Regions from separate parts of the Homo sapiens genome. Here regions 1, 2, 3, 5 and 6 are each linked to region 4. The links are contacts of gene promoters, found by promoter capture Hi-C in blood cells and fetal thymus (Javierre and others, 2016). All regions are on one chromosome and are shown on one strand. Each heading gives the region's core, a stretch centred on a gene start or on the middle of the fragment in contact. The rest is flanking DNA. Distances are from core to core; before and after follow the strand shown.

Region 1 (2,700 bases), core at 108-2,607, 440 kb before region 4:
ATGCCTAGAGTGTCAGTTTTAATCCATGACAAGATATTGAAAACGTTTCATTTATGTGATGAATATTTATTGTCTGTTATATACATGTACTTTTTTAGGTGCTAGGGATAAATCAAACCATAAAACAGAAATTAACACTGTGGTAGTTAGACAATAGACAGAGAGTAAACAAAAGAAGTAAATACTGTGCTCAAAAGTGATTAATGTTACTAAGAAAATGTAAAAGGGAAGGGGAGATAGGAAGTATTGGGGAAGGAGATTGTAATTTTAGTGAGTATGGTTGCTCATAGCCTTCTGTAACATTTGAGCTAAGACTTCAAGGTGGTGAAGGAGTGACCTGTGCAGATATTTGGGGAAGAGCATTCCAAACAGAGGAAACGGCAAGTACAAAGACCCTGAAACGGCAAGTACAAAGACCCTGAGATGGGAGTGTGCCTAGCATTCAAGAATAGCAAGGAGGTCATTGTGGCTAGAATGGGGAAGGTAATTGGAATGAAGTCAAAGAGAGATGTAAAGAGGCTTTCTAATGGAGTGAGATGTGAAACCATTAGAGGTTTTGAGCACAATAGTGACAAGGTGACTTAGCTTTATCAGAATACTCTGTTTAAACTCTGTTTGCTATGTTGCAAGCCGACTGGCTACTATGTTACAGATAGACTCCAGGCTGGCAAGGAGTGTAGTTAAGGAGACTATTGGTATATTAAAACCAACTTGGATATATTATGCAGCAGAAAACAAAAGTGACTTAAAATGTCAAAATAGAAGCCTAGACCTTCATGTATAAAATAGAGGCATTTAAATAATTTTTAGCATATTATAGATTTTCGGGATCCTCCTCCAGTCCTCAAAGTCTGTTTCATTTGTCTGTCTTTAGTACTGTTTTCCAGCTTTTGACATGAATGCACTTTTCTGCTTTCTGCTGTCATTTCCCACTTCAGAATTTGAGGATATTGCATTCACTTTGGTTGCCAGGAAGTTTTACTGTTGTTTAAAATTGTTGAAGTTGTTCTGAAGTGACAGGAAACCTTAATAAACATTTTGATTTTTGTAAAGAGGAGTAGATGCATAATAAGTGAGTAGTGGTGTGGAAGTACCCTTAATGTTTCTCCTCCCTTTCACATCTGTTCTCCACTTGTCATTTTTCTGCTTAAAAACTTCCTATAGCTTTCATGTGCATTCTCTCTTGTCTTCCTCAGCCACATTCTATTTCTATTATTGTTATTATTGTTATTATTATTGAGACAGGGTCTCCCTCTTCCATCACCCAGGCTGGAGTACAGTGGCACGATCATAGTTTAGTAACCTCAAACTCCTGGGCTCAAGGTATCCTTCTGCCTCAGTCTCTGTAGCTGAGACTACAGGCCCGTGTTACAAAGCCCAGCTAATTTTTGTTTGTTTGTTTGTTTTTTAGCTTTTTTAAGAGATAGGGTCTCAAACACCTGGCCTCAAGCAGTCTTCTTGCCTTGGTCTCCTAAAGTGCTGGGATTACAGGCCTGAGCCACCGCCCCAGGCCACATTGTATTTCATTGTCTCTCAGCCCTCCCCCTACCCTAATCATCCAAGCCTTTTTTTTTTCTTGTTCCTGTCTTTACAGACGTAGTTAATTTTTCCTAAAATGTTTTCTTCCACTTTCACTACTTGGTGAATGCTTCAGAACAAAACTTAGCTGTCAACTGAAGGCTTCCTATCACCTTCAGAAATCCTCCCCAACCTAGTAGTATATACATTCTTTTATTACAGGTGTCACCTTGTATTAAGAATGATAACATGTTTCCTTTACTAGACCAAGCTCTTAGTGGCTGCATCAAATTTATTGGTTTTTTTTACATACCCATTGCTGAGCATTTTTTAAGACAGCGTTTATTTAAATGAATTAGTTCTAGCCAGGTGCGGCGGCTCACACCTGTAATCCCAGCACTTTGGGAGGCCAAGGTGGGCAGATCACTTGAGGTCAGGAGTTCAAGACCAGCCTGGCCATTGTGGTGAAACCCCGTCTCTACTAAAAACACAAAAATTAGCTGGGCGTGGTGTTGCGTGCCTGTAATTCCAGCTGCCCATGAGGCTGAGGCATGAGAATCTCTTGAACGCAGGAGGCAGAGGTTGCAGTGAGTGGAGATTACATCACTGCACTCCAACCTGGGCAACAGAGTGAGACTCCATCTCAAAAAAGAAAGAAAATTAGAAAATATATATAATCAGCAACACCTCTGTGAAATTGGGCAAATGATTTAACCTCCCTGAATTGAGTTTCCTTATCTGAAAAATCAGGATAATCATTCCTGCTCTGCCAAGTTCACAGTACTGTTAGGAAGACCTCAAAAGATACTGCATGTGCCGGTGCTTTGAAAATGTCTTAAACTTATGCTATATAGGGCTAGTAGAGCCTAGATACTGTAATAAAATCTGAAGACTTATCTAGTTCTCTTCTGTATCCAGTAGTTTACTGGGTTTTGTATTATTGCCTCCCCTTGTTTTAACTATGTACATTTTTATAAAGAACTGATACTTATTTAAAAGTAGCAATTTATCTGCAGTCAAGGATAGAGGATACTACTGGCAATTGGGACAAATTTTTAAAAATACTTTTTTACATGCTTGAGAGCTTTAGTAGGCCTTCTCTCTGAAAATATAGTGTGAATATTTAATACATAAAATTTTACCAAGCCTTTAAGATTTTGTATCTTTACGGGAAATAGTTTT
Region 2 (2,700 bases), core at 116-2,615, 420 kb before region 4:
ACACTGGTTGATAAAGGGAAGCTGCAGGACCAAGGTGAAGATTGATAGTCCAAATGCTTTTCTTTTTTGAGTTGTATATTTTTTCACACCATCTTAGATATAATTAGGTAGCTGCTGAAAGGAAAAGTGAATACAGAATTGACGGTATTATTGGAGATTTTTCCTCTGCGTAGAGCCATCCAGATCTCTGTATCCTGTTTTGACTAAGTCTTAGGTGGGTTGGGAAGACAGATAATGAAGTAGGCAAAGAGAAAAGGACCCAAGATAGAGGTTTATATTCAGAAATGGTATATATCAATGACAGCATATCAAACTTCCTATGGGAAAAAGTCTGGTGGGTGGTCAGCTGACAGATTTCCCATTTAGTAGTCATAGAATACAGAAATAGTTTAGGGACATGTATTCATTTTGTTATTTTGAGCATTGATAGGTCAGTATATCTACCTAATCTGTTTGGTAAGTATAGGATATATAAACCATTACCATTGATCTGTCTTATGCCATAATCTTAAAAAAAATTTGAATGCTCTTGAATTTGTATATTCAATAAAGTTATCCTTTTATATTTTTTATGTCAGACTACTCATTTGAAAAATAGCTTTTTTTTTTAATTGACAACTGGGAATATTTTTCTTTTGAGATGGGTGAATGGTGATATTCTTTCAGCAAATAGTATGTTAATGAAACAGTCATGTTAACATATATTCAGAAATTAAAGAGGAAGAAAAATTTACCCAAAGGGTAGATAAGGAGACATTCTCTAAGAAAGTTTAATATTCAGGGCTGTTGTTTTAACTTTCATTAATGGCAAAGAACTTGGTTGATATTGAGGGGGAAGTAAAAGGGAGCTAGTGTTTTTAAATATACCCAGTGTTACAAATTAGTTCTCGGGGAATTTCAGTCCCACTGAAGAATATTGCCTCAATTTTGGACAAATATTCCCAATGTGCTAAATCAGAATTGGCAGGGAGCTTTTATATGCGTATTCTTTAGATTTTTAAGCCTTCTGAAGACCATTTTAAATAATGGGAAATGTCTCTAAAATATTTGAATTTCTAAGGATAGACTAAGAAGGTAACTAGTTAATGCCATTTCCTCTTAATCAGCTATTTTTCACTGTCAGTTTTTAAAAATTCCTAGTGCTCAGGCTCGATAAAACTGTTAAGGGTATTTTCATTTAAAAAGCCTTAGACATTTAGAACTATTAATATAACAAGCTACAAGTATTGGTTTTTGAAGCAGGCTGAGCTCTCTGGCATTTTTAATGAAACTTCCTTATAAGGAGATGATTATAGTTGTCTTAATGACCTAAATATGTGGCTCAATAATGGTTATTCCAAAGAATTAATCATGGTTTACTTCAAGATAATGAGCAAGTCATCAAGTAAAACGTTAATATCTTACTGTTCCTGGCATCAGCATTTTAGGGACAAAATGGTGTTACAGATGTCAGAATATTGATTGCATAAAATCTTGAAACCCACAAAACTCGTAGGCTTAAGTCTTAGTAATTTCTGTTGTTTATGTAATTTCAGCCCTGCACGTCACTGAAAAGTTATTTATCTTAACAAACTGGCCAAATTTGGCGGGTAATGCTGTCTGCCAGTATCTGCAGATGTATTGTTTCCGCCTACATTTGTGCATGTTGTCTGTGGTCTTTAAAGAACACTAACACCAGATAGAAATGTCAACTCTGTTCAGATTTTTTCCTATGTTCGAAGAACTGATGTTGCTGATTCCTAATTTTGTCAAATTATGTGTCTGAACTGTCTTCCTTTCTTGAAAGGTAGATATTACCAAACGTATACCAGATAAGTAATCAGAAGTAGTTAATATTGTGTCAAGTTACAGCACAGTTTTCAACAAAGTAACCACAAAGGTCAGTGCTAAGGCAAATATTTAGTAAACGATGTTTTAGCTATCTAAAGTAAAAAGGCATGATCTTAGGAAAGTGATTGCAAATTAAAAGAGAGAAAATTAAAAAACTGAAGTTTGGAAAACAAGTAATTGCAACAGTTTCAAGAGTTTAATCTGACCTGATTTTTTCTTCTGTAGAAGACAATGAACTAAAAGGACACAATTGTTCTCGATCTCTGTTTTGAGTGCTTTAAAAAATTAATATATGGAAGAGTTCAAAATGGGCAAAATAAAAACTTATTTGGAGAGCATACGCATAGTTTTTTTATAAAGCAAGAACGATGACCAGAAAACAGATGTAAATGGTTTAGAATTTCTATTTAAGCATAAACCATGTGCAAAATTACTCTTCCGAATTTAACACATCATGTGTTAGCCATTAGCTGATTCCATCTTGGACCCTACTGAAGCAATTCTTTAAGGAAAATAACAGGCTTAGCACTAGAAAACAACATATGAAGGAAAATAGGGAATAAATACTTTATAGATACATCTCTCTAGTTCTAGATTTAGAGAATGCCAGTGTTACTCCAGCAGGCAACCAAGAAGATGGATCAAGGAATGGGCTTCTGACAGACATCCTGAAGAAACTGAACACTGTCAGCTGTGGAGTGAGTAGTACAAATCAGAAAATGAAAGATCCATTGATTTCCTTCTAATCAGAATTTTTGCCTATGTTCTTTATCCACATTCTATTGATGTGTTTTTATACATGTATTCAATTATGTATTTGCCCTTTGTGTAAATTCCTTCCATAACTTCTCTGAAGACTGTAGCACATGA
Region 3 (2,700 bases), core at 157-2,656, 500 kb before region 4:
TTTTGAGATGGAGTCTCGCTCTGTTGCCCAGGCTGGCTCGGCTCACTGCAACCTCCACCTCCCAGGTTCAAGCGATTCTCACGCCTCAGCCTTCTGAGTAGCTGGGATTACAGGCGTGAGCCACCGTGCCCGTCCCAAATCTTACTTATTTCTGTACTGTGTTTTAAAATGCTTTTTATCACAGCATAATTATATTTGTTATTTTATTTCATTTTATAATCATCATGTATGCAAAGTGGGGTTGAGGCAGGGGAGGCATGTTGTTTCAACCTGAGTTCCTAAAATTGATGCTGTGACAATTCTTGGATGAAGCTTTCCTAGGCTAGTTTTGTCATGATAAAGGAATGTCTTATTAAAGTCTCTCAATCCTTGCCTTTTTAGAAATCATAATCAAAGTTCCTTTAAAGTTTCTCTAAATTTTAGAAAAGCATTTCTATTATGTATGAGGCTCTTTGAAGAAACCTATGATTCCAATAGCTTTTCACTTGAAATATTATTTCCAACTGTGCTAAATTTATAATAATTTCCAGCCCTTTTAATATATCTAACAGTTAACATTTATTCAGAGCCCTTACTCTATGTCAGATACTGTGTTTGGATTTTACACGAATTGTCTCACTTAATTCTCACAATAACCCTATTTGTGCCCATTATTCAAATAAAGAAACAGGAATCAAGGCAAAGCAAAGTGCTCATACAGAGAGCAAGTAGCAGGGCTAGGACTTGAAACCAGATCTGTCTGATGCCAAAGCCTCTGGTCTTCTACAAAATTACGGTGAGGTCCCACCAGTAACACAGTCCCATTTAGGGGTATTTTAGAGAGGCAAAGCATGGAGTCAGGTTGATTCCTTTGGGATACCTTCCAGGTCTCAGTACGGATTAGTATTTGCCTGCTTGCCAGAGATGAATGAAAATTGTACAAGAGGAAAACAGGTTAGTAGCTACTGCAATTCTGGGGTTATTGCACCGCAGTAGCTACCACGTCCTGGTATACGGCACCCTTGTTCTTTGGAAAGTGAGTTAAAAACAGCCATTCTTAATTATGGGTTTAGATGAAAGAGAATATGAAGCCTGGAGAGCCATTTTAAATGGTTTTGAGCATGTGGGTGTGGGGATGACTGTTTAAGGAGAATTGCCCCCTTGCCCCCAAACCCCTCCAATCCTCTTCACCCCAAGAGGAGAAAATGTCTACTGCCCTACTATTCATGGAAGCATCTGGATTTTCCTTTTTACATGGTCCTTCATGAATCAGACATCTCTGGGAATTTTTCAAAGTTAATTTGTTCCCAAAGGGAGTACAAGTGAATGGCATGCCTTCATATCCCGCTTTGCTGGTTTAAGCCAAGAATGATGTCTCTCAATAGCAGTGGGAGTTGAGTGTGTGGCTGAGTGCAGCACATGGTCCTTTAACTTTTATTAGAGTTCCATCCTGCAGACTGAGGTTGTCAGATGTCATCCTAAGTGTGTGTTTAATATTTCTGAGTTTTGAACTTTGACCTTAGTTTAATGTGGACAGGCCATATGCAGCTACTCGCTTTTAATCAATGACGACAACATTCCTCTGGTGTCAGGGTTCCAAGCCATACTCTGTAGGCATCAAATATTCCCAGAAAGAGTTCAGCATTTTCAGACTTAATTTTTTAAAGCCATCACTAATGGCTCTTGAAAAGAAAGATCAAACTAACATACTAAAGTAAAATTTCTGAGTATAAAATAACTTTTCAAAGGGTGTTTTGCAACACTCTGATCCAGTTCTTCCCCTAATGTTTGGTAGTATATATTTGCTTTATGCACACACACACACACACACACACACACACACACACACACACCCTTCTTTTAGGAGCAAGTCTTTGGTTTCTCAGCCCATTCTCATTATTCCACCCCCATTGCTATGCTGAAGTTCACCAAAGACATTTGATCCAGATACTGCTGAATACCAAGTTTTTTTTAGTTATATTGTTGTTAATCCAATGAAGTTCTTCATTCTCTTATTTATATAGAAAATTATACATAAATGCAGACCAAACATAGTGCCCCCTGCCATGGCAGGGCAGATGCTGCATAGATGCAGAGGATTTTTCCAAGGCTCCTTAAGGTCCCTAACAGGGAACACTGCTGCCAGTGACCATGTCTGCTCAGGTAGAATCTTGCTAAATTTGAGACACTTAACTCTATGCAGAGCTACAGCCATTTTATGCTTGGAATTTACATCACCATTCAGGAAGCGCCTACACACCTTTCTTTAAATAGTCTCTGGTCTTGGTTTCCATGTTAGCACACACTGCTGATTCTCCTTCTACTTTTTTGGCTATACTAAGTCTCTTATGTCAGTCTCTCATCCTCTAACCAACTAGTAAATGTTGGTATTCCTCAGAATTCTTTCCTAGGCCCTCTACTCTCTGTTCTCTTTAATATTTCCCTGAGGAAATATTATCAATTCACATGGCTTTAGTTATCTATACACTGACAAATCCCAAAGTTATCTCTCTGGTGCAGATTAAGCTTGCGAGTTAACATATCTGAATATAGAACTGCCTATAGGACATTTCAATTTGGATGTCTCAAAGGCATCCCTAAACCACTGAGTATGTCCAAAACGGATAACTATTATTCTCTTAGAGAACAATCATATGGCTCCATTACACATCGAGTTACTCAAGTCATAAAGAACTGGGGGGAGGGGAGGGTTATGACTCT
Region 4 (2,700 bases), core at 200-2,699:
TGGGATTACAGGCATGAACCACCGAGCCCAGCCTGAGATTAAGCTTTTTAAAAGATGGTTCAGAAGGCAATGTGGTGGTCTGCACCTACAGTACCTGGAGAGGCTGAGGTAGGAGGATGCTTGAGCTCAGGAGTTCGAGACTACCTTGAGTTATGATTGCATTGCTTCATTCCAGCCTGGGCCACAGAGCAAGACTCAATCTCAAAAAAATCACTCAATCTTCTTTACCTAGAGTGTACATGTCTCCCTGCCACTAATTCTCAAGAGGAAGGTCAAAAAGTTGATAGTTGGGGCAAAATTTGTACTGAGTCATTCCTCTCTTTCATTTCCCTTGACTTCTTTCAGATTTTTCATGATGTGAGAGTCACACCCTAAGTCTGTACCCATCTACTCTTTTCCTGAACAATAAGATAATCTCTATATCTAATCTCTAATCTATTAGAGTTTCACGTTGTTGCTCTGGCTGGCCTTGAAACCTTGGGATTAAGTGAGCCTTCCGCTTTAACCTCCCCAGTAACGGGCATTGCAGGCGCCTGCAGCCACACCATTAATACTACTTTAAACAGCAAAAACAAGAACACGAAAATTAAATCTAAACAAAAAGTGCTTGCCAATCCAGGTATTTATGTGACGTCTAGTAAGTAGATCAAGTGCGTTGCTTTCTTGTGAACACTTGGTTCTTTCCTGCCACATCAAAGTGATTGAATTAAGACGTGTCAAGCTGTTAATGGCCCCCAGACTTCCGCTTCAGGAAACTGGAGATCGATGGTTTTTTGGCCGGATTTGCGAGCAGCTTGTCAGCTGTTTTTGCCCTCCCCTTCCCATCCATCCACTGCGAATGAGTATTAGGAATTCAGAAGCGTTGTTTGCTATTTGATCCTAAGGGAAACTACTGTACTAAATATATTCTTCTGATACATGTTAGCACCTCTAAAGTATCTGCAAACCATCAAGAGGTAGTTGCGAAGACTCAAAATCCTAAATCACGCACTCATCAGTACGCAGCTGTTGCGAAACAGCTCTTAAATTGCCACTTTAAACCCAAAGAGAGTATGTCTCTAGCCTCAGCTGCTACCTAATATTGATCAAGCACTCACTACGTGCAAGAGACAGGAACTGTGGAGAAGGCTGGGGAAAAAAGCGTGAAAACCACGAAAACATCAGAAGCCAAAACTCAAGAACCTCTACTAGGCTAACTGATTAGTGAAAACGTCGTGTTAACAGCAAACGCCTTGAGTGTAGCGCTCCTACTCCTAACCCCCGGCTCTCTACACGGCAATCACCCGAACCCACTCTGCCTGCCCTAACAGGCCTGAGCTGCCCGGCTCAGACTCCTACACCTTTTTTGCACCGCCCGGGGCTGGGTGTGGTCACGTGACAGGTTCAGACCAATGGGCAGGCCGCCCGCGGGGGGTCTTCTATAAAAGCGCCTGTCGCGCGACCGCCATTACAACAAAAACTGGCGGCGAGGAACTGCGGAGAACTGTTGCCCTGCACCGCTTCATTTTGTGCAGCCTGAAAGGGGCAATCACATAAGGTCGGTTTTGTAATATACAGGTAACATACAGGTAATGTACCCTCCACAGGGGGTGCTGCCTTAGGCCGGCCCCGAGGTGCGGCCTTGGGTGGGAACAACCGTTTTTTCCCCCCTCTCCCCTCCCCGACCCCATCAACATCGTGCGACAGTCCGGGCAGTTGAGAAGGCCACCCCGCTTCGTGCCTGCAGCCCAGGTGAGTTGCCAGTCGCTTCCCTTTGGCCTTACCAACTTCAGGCTCGTTGCCCCCAAGGGATCTTTTTCTCTCTCTCCCTCTTTTCCCCTAAATGTCTGGTTTTTCTTCAAGGGAGGGCTGGGAAGGAGGAGGTTGGGGCGAGGGAGTGGGAGGTCCAGTTGTCCAACTGCCTCCTCCCATTTTGAAAAATACTCATGGTCTTTGTAGTTCCTCTTAGGTCTTGGACTGGTGTGGATCGCTGCTGCCTGTACTGTAATTTTGGAAATGCAGGAGAAAGTACGGAGCGTTTAGCTTTAGCTGGCATTTTGTGTTTATTCTGCAAGTGGTCATTTGGGACGGGGAAGTTCGGGTTCTTGCTTCATTTATTTATTCAATTAACTTTATTAAGCCCCTGGAACGTCTGAACCCTCTTTTGGGTACTGCAGGATTGTGGTGGGCTTTACTTCAAGGCGCGCTGGCCTGTATTAAGAATTAAGATAGAGGAGGCCGGGTGCAGTGGCTCGCCCCTGTAATCTCAGCACTTTCGGAGGCCGAGGCAAGTGGATCACCTGAGGTCAGGAGTTCAAGACCAGCCTGGCCAACATAATGAAATGCCCATCTCTACCAAAAATACAAAAATTAGCTGGGTGTGATGGCAGGCGCCTGTAGTCCCAGCTACTCGGGAGGCTGAGGCAGGAGAATCGCTTGAACCCAGGAGGCGGAAGTTGCAGTGCGCCGAGATCACGCCAGTGCACTCCAGCCTGGGCGACAGAGTGAGACTCCGTCTCCCCGCTCCCCCCAAAAAAGAAAGAGGTATGTACAGGGACTTTGGGACTCAAGGGAAAGGCCTGGGTGGATGGGAGGGAATGAGAGAGGCTCTTGGGCAGAAGTGATAACTCGTCTTGATCTTGAGGGACAAATAGAAGTTAGACTAAAAAGTGAGGAGGGAAGTTCAGGTAAAGAGAAGTTTCTCAAAGGCATGGATGTATG
Region 5 (2,700 bases), core at 137-2,636, 460 kb before region 4:
TAGAACACCCATAGGAACCCACTCAGCATTCTGGCAAGGGAGAGGGAGTTGACCCATGAGGGACAGACACTAATGGATAAATATTTGCTTCCCCTTTTAAACTGAGGTGAAAAATTCTACAATACATTTCAAAAGCCTCCTCAGAAGACACTGCAGCATTGTGTGCCAGTCATCCACAGGAGTGGCTAAACCCTTAATATTTAATACATACTCATCTTGGCTTCTCCTCCTTCCTGTTTTGTATGCCTGCTCCCTGGAATCACATTGTTTAATAAATGTTGCTGGGCTTTGGGGGAACCCAGACAGACACTATCTTATATGTCCTAGCTTTAGCAATTCATATTTTAGTGTAAGTTAACATTCTGAATGCTTGAAGAGTTATTACTGCATCAGTGCCGGATGTACCAAAACTGAATAGTACCAAAAGTCTGGGATGTTGAGTTTTGACAGAATCCCAAAACATCTCAGGTGCTTTAAGAAGAATGTTTAGTCCCTATGTTATAGGAGGTTCTTGTATTGCTATAAAGGAATACCTGAGACTTGGTAATTTATAAAGAAAAGAAGTTTAATTGGTTCACAGTTCTGCAGGCTGTACAAGTGTGGTGCCAGCATCTGCTCAGCTTCTGGGGAGGCCTCAGGGAGCTTTTACTCATGGTGGAAGGCGAAACAGGAGCAGGCATGTCACGTGGCAAAAGCAGGAGCAAGCGAGAGCCAGAGGAAAGATGCTGCACACTTGTAAAGAGCCACATCTCTTGAGAACTCGCTATCACGAGGACAGCACCTAGGGGATGAGGCTAAACCATTCATGAGAAACCCACCCACATGATCCAATCACCTCCCACCAAGCCCCACTTCTAACACTGGGGATTACAATTCCACATGACACTTAGAGGGGACAACATCCAAACTATATCAGTCCCTATTATCAGTCCTATATTAATTTCTTTCATAGGACTTCCTAACCTCATATTGAAAAAGGTCAAATATAAAATCATAACCACAAAATGGCACGAAAGAGGGAAGTGGGCATATCACGTGATCACATTCATTTCTAAAACTGTCTATTCAAGGTTTACAAGAAAAAAGAAATTTTGGAATGCTTGTTGTTAGAGCAATTTTATGATAAAGTGCTCAATTTGTTCAAGGAAAATGTAAACTTTAAGAGAACTTATCCTTCACGTTTAATATTCATGGTAACTACTCATGAGTGAACTACAGTGGAAATGTGGTAGAAAGAACTCATTGGCCAGGGGTCTTGCTACAAGGAACTACCTTGTAAAGTTAACTTTCTTTGACAAGTTCCAGATGTGCTTCATACCAGAAATATTGAAACACAGGAACATAGTATAGATCACAGAGATGTGATTTCTTGCAATATAGAAGATGAGTGTTTAAATAATACTCATCTAAACACAGGATCTAAAAATCGAATATAATTTTGTCTGCTTACAGGATCTAAAAATTGAATATAATTGTGTTTTTAATTTTTATTTTTATTGGTAAGACTGCTATTTATTTGGGGTGATATGCTTATACATCACATGCTAGGAGACACTGTTCATTCTCATTCCTGGGCCTCTGTTTTCCCTTCTCTTTTATTTTTTGGTAGCCACATTCAGCCATTTTCTTAGCTATGTGATGGCTGGAAGAAACAGTGGCTATACATATATATATATATATATATATTTTTTTTTTTTTTTTTTTTTGAGACGGAGTCTCACTCTGTCACCCAGCCTGGAGTGCAACCTCGCCTCTCGGGTTCAAGTGATTCTCAGGCCTCAGCCTCCCCAGTAGCAGGGATTACAGGCTCTCACCACCATACCCAGCTAATTTTTGTATTTTTAGTAAAGACGGGGTTTTGATGTGTTGGCCAGGCTGGTCTCCAACTCCTGACCTGAAGTGATCCACCTGCTCTGGGTTCCCAAAATGCTGAGATTACAGATATCAGCCACCGCACCTGGCCAGCTATATATTCTTAAAACATACAGCTCACGATCTTCAGGGTGCTTAGAAGGCAAGGGATCCTTTTTAGCTCCCTACAGCATATTCTCTGAGATCACTGTTACCCTTTCTGAGAGATGACCACAAGGGGATATTTCTAGGTAGTGAGGATATAACCCTAGTTTTGTAGTACCCAGAGGACCTGCCAGCTTTCTAAAGAGGTGTCATAATTTGGAGCTCTAAATTTTGAGACATTTGTGGTACTCTAGCCTTTTCATGTGGCTAGAGAGAGAATAATGTACTAGAGAACATAAGTATCAACATAGAATTTGAACCATTCAGAAGGACTAGAATCATTGTTATTGAAGGATGTTGAAGAATTTTATTGACTTTACCACAACCCATTCCCAGCTACACAAGTGGCAGCAAGAAAAGACTCTGTGTGTCTTTCCCTTCACTTTAATAGAGGCACTGAGTATTGCTGGCTTCTCCTCCCTCCTCATGTCAAAATTAAATGCCAGTCACTGTCCATCCATGGTCATGCTGTTAACAAAGACTTCAGCAAAGAGACTCCTGCAATATTTCCTCCATCTCCTGCCTTGTGGAGGATCATGGGACAAGTGTATTTTTTCACATAGAAAGATTAAGCTGCTGCTCTCTTGTCAAGAAAAAGAAACTACCATTAGAAAGCACTAGTCACAATTCTGAGCTGTTGTAATTAACAAATACTAAGTAAATATTTGTGTGCTTTGTTTCTCC
Region 6 (2,700 bases), core at 38-2,537, 400 kb before region 4:
CGGGCTTTGGCTATGCTGCCCCTTCCCTCCTGGAACGCCTTCCCACTTTCCTCTGCTTGTCCATATCCTGCCCGTCATTCAGCACCTAACTCCAGTTCTTCCTCTTCCACAAAGCTTTTCCTGATCACTCTGGCCCTCAGAGATATCTCTACAGCTGTACTCTGACTGCCACCCAATTTAGCACCTGATCACAGCGGGTTTGTACCATGTAATTAGTATAGGTTTTCCCTGGCCACTTGGATGTAAGAAACTTCACATTTATTTGTTATACATTATGATCTCTGGTTTGGCGCCAGCCACGAACACAATGAGAGAAATCCAGTATCAGCCACTAACAGGGACGCCCCCTCCTTTCTGAGGTTCCTGTAGTGGCTGTTGGGGCTGGCCTTTCTTTCAGCACACTATTATCACTGCCAGGTTATTCACTGTCTATGCCCCAAAGCCCATTAGGTAGGCAGTGCCGCTATGCTGAGCACAGTGCGACTTCTCAGCAAATCCTTGTTGACAAACTGACATAGGCTGTGCTAAGGTCCCCTCCTACTACCCTCCCAGGACCTGTTCTTTGTACCTCTAGGCACCGCGCAGTTTCCCAGTGCGCCTCGAGTCCTCGCAGGGCCGGGCAGTGGCCACCCCGGATTGGCTAGCCTTGCCCCCTCGTGATCATGGAAGTGGGCGGGGAGCGTGGTGAGCGGATGCTGCTGGAGTGCTTGAACCCCGAGGCCTGGAGCGGCAGTCAGCACCCCCACGCCGAGTCCCTGGCAGTCCCGGCCTTCCGGGGGCGGCCCTGGGGCCTCGGGCAACTGCATCCACGGCCCTGGAGCCCATCATGTCCCATGGTTCACGTTTTTCCGCCTGGAAACTGCATGCCTGTCTTTCTGCTTTGCCAAAGTTTCCTTCGCACGAGGAGGGCCCTGAATTACAGAAGTCGCTTTTCTCCAGTCAGTTCAAGCCAGCCTGGCGCGAGTCCCTCATTCTCCTTTGTCAACGAGGCAAAGACTCAGTTGTTCACCCAACTGTGTCTTGCTGGGGGGCAGCCCTTTCCCTGCCCTTCCCTCTCTCTCAGAAGCCCCAAGTGGGCCTTTCCCCGACCCTACTCTGAGCGCGTGGAAAATCTGCTTCGGGCGCAGATCTCGAGTAGTTGGCCTCCCCTCATTTCCGTCTTTCGCTTCTGCCCGCGTGGGGCCACTTTGGTATAGGTGGGAATTAAGCCGGGGAGGGAGGAGTAGGTCGGAACAGTTTGCAGCTGGCGGCTCGCTGATTGGGTGTTATTTTACAGCTGGGCAGAAATGACCGCGGTAGCACTCCTGGGGAGGCCTCTAAAGCTGCAGACACGATGTGTCGCGGGACCATCCAGTTCTGGCCCCGTGCAGGAGGACAGGACGCCGTCTGGTCGCTGCCCTGGGCGCTCAACATGGGAGCTGCCAGAGGAGAGCGCCCTGTGAGTGCCTGACAAATGGAGGTATTTCTTTCCAGGTTTTACAACCCGATGTATTTTCAGGGAGGACCTTCCTAGGTACCTCCACTTCTCAGTCTCTCAACTCAGCAGCCTCCATCCATTTCCACGAATCCGCTGGACTCGCTCCTGCAAAACACGGTGTGAAATTGACTTCTAACTGGAAGCCTTTCTTTTCCAACCCCATCCACTGCAATTCTTCTGTTTTCAGCACTCTGGTGTTCTGTGTTTTTTGTTGTTGTTGTTTTTGTTTTTGTTTTTTTCATGTGTTTAGCTCGGGCTTTGAAAGAATCTGAAATCTTATCTTTTAATTTCAAATTCCCTAAAGCCACAGAGTGCATCTTTCCCTGTCCCACACAGTGCCTAGTTCAGTTCTTGTCCCACAGTATATTAACCAACTGCCACAAAGCCTCATGTATGCCACACAACTAAACACCAGGACGTCTGAAGGAAAAACTCTAGAAAACTCTAGAGTGGCTCTTTGGAGCAGGAAGAGCTGCTACACTCCCAATGCCCTCTGAGAGCTGCCAGGTCCCATGATGCCTTCTCTTGTGTGTAGACTGAGATGTATTCATTAAGGGTAACACGGTGATTTTTTGTTTGTGCTCCCTTAATTAAAAAAAAAAAAAAGATTTGGTGGGAAAGGCAGATGGAAGTTCTTGAAGGGGGCTACTTCAGAGCAGGTCTTTCTGAGCCCCCTTGAAGCACACCGTGTGTGTGTGTGCGTGTGTGTGTGTGTGTGTGTGTGTGTGTGTGTCTGGGACCCCAGAGTCAATCCAGATGATGCTGATATAGTTACATTTGAGAACCAGTGGTAGGTAGATCTTTGCTACTCTAGTCCTCAGGCAAACAGCATCAGCCTCACCTAGGAGTTTTTAAGAAATGCAGAATCTCAGGACCCAGCCAGACCTACTGCATAGAAGTCTGCATTTTAACAAGATCTCTAGGTGATTGGTGTATACACAAAAGTGTAAGAATCCCTGCTTTAGTAATGACTGCTCTGGGAACAAGCTTAAACTTGGGCAACCTGGACCTATGGTCACCCATCCTATCAGGGAGATAGATGGTAGATGGTGGGCTAGGGACAGGGTGAGAGGAAATCTGAGCAGCCACAGATCTGGGGTCCTCTCCCTCCCAAACTGGCCCCTGATTTAGAAATATGGTCTCAAGAGCCTATCTTTCTGTCCCCAGTTTTCACCGTAGACAACTTTCTAATAATTGAACTGTCTGTCCTGCCTGCTAGTTGC

Evidence for each region. Contacts are between HindIII fragments. The CHiCAGO score rates a contact against its expected background, and 5 or more counts as called.
Region 1: a contact is called between a fragment that was not itself captured here and the fragment with the promoter of BRDT in region 4, in 7 of 17 cell types (total CD8 T cells, naive CD4 T cells, endothelial precursors and 4 more). The highest score is 10.6, in total CD8 T cells.
Region 2: a fragment that was not itself captured here is called in contact with the fragment with the promoter of BRDT in region 4 in 6 of 17 cell types (naive CD8 T cells, total CD8 T cells, M1 macrophages and 3 more); the score reaches 6.9 in naive CD8 T cells.
Region 3: a fragment that was not itself captured here is called in contact with the fragment with the promoter of BRDT in region 4 in 3 of 17 cell types (M0 macrophages, endothelial precursors and monocytes); the score reaches 5.2 in M0 macrophages.
Region 5: a contact is called between a fragment that was not itself captured here and the fragment with the promoter of BRDT in region 4, in 2 of 17 cell types (activated CD4 T cells and total CD8 T cells). The highest score is 5.1, in activated CD4 T cells.
Region 6: a contact is called between a fragment that was not itself captured here and the fragment with the promoter of BRDT in region 4, in 2 of 17 cell types (total CD8 T cells and naive CD8 T cells). The highest score is 6.7, in total CD8 T cells.

Annotation. Positions count from the first base shown.
Region 1 is chr1:91,504,787-91,507,486 of GRCh38, forward strand. The region is part of intron 2 of CDC7 (cell division cycle 7); the gene reads left to right. Among named protein-coding and RNA genes, the nearest start is that of CDC7, 5.3 kb to the left of the region's middle. The HindIII fragment of the contact is 3,462 bases long and covers 1-2,700 here.
Region 2 is chr1:91,525,193-91,527,892 of GRCh38, forward strand. It overlaps CDC7 (cell division cycle 7), which reads left to right. Exons shown (of 12, transcript NM_003503.4): 12 at 1-572. All of the region lies in intron 4 of LOC102723436 (a long non-coding RNA gene), which reads right to left. Among named protein-coding and RNA genes, the nearest start is that of CDC7, 26 kb to the left of the region's middle. The HindIII fragment of the contact is 4,325 bases long and covers 1-2,700 here.
Region 3 is chr1:91,451,118-91,453,817 of GRCh38, forward strand. No RefSeq gene overlaps it. Among named protein-coding and RNA genes, the nearest start is that of HFM1, 48 kb to the left of the region's middle. The HindIII fragment of the contact is 2,193 bases long and covers 311-2,503 here.
Region 4 is chr1:91,947,952-91,950,651 of GRCh38, forward strand. It overlaps BRDT (bromodomain testis associated), which reads left to right and starts at 1,450. Exons shown (of 19, transcript NM_207189.4): 1 at 1,450-1,731. The HindIII fragment of the contact is 8,652 bases long and covers 42-2,700 here.
Region 5 is chr1:91,486,637-91,489,336 of GRCh38, forward strand. It overlaps LOC105378856 (a long non-coding RNA gene), which reads right to left. Exons shown (of 3, transcript XR_947599.4): 3 at 2,385-2,599. Among named protein-coding and RNA genes, the nearest start is that of CDC7, 13 kb to the right of the region's middle. The HindIII fragment of the contact is 3,637 bases long and covers 1-2,700 here.
Region 6 is chr1:91,545,695-91,548,394 of GRCh38, forward strand. All of the region lies in intron 3 of LOC102723436 (a long non-coding RNA gene), which reads right to left. Among named protein-coding and RNA genes, the nearest start is that of CDC7, 46 kb to the left of the region's middle. The HindIII fragment of the contact is 2,350 bases long and covers 113-2,462 here.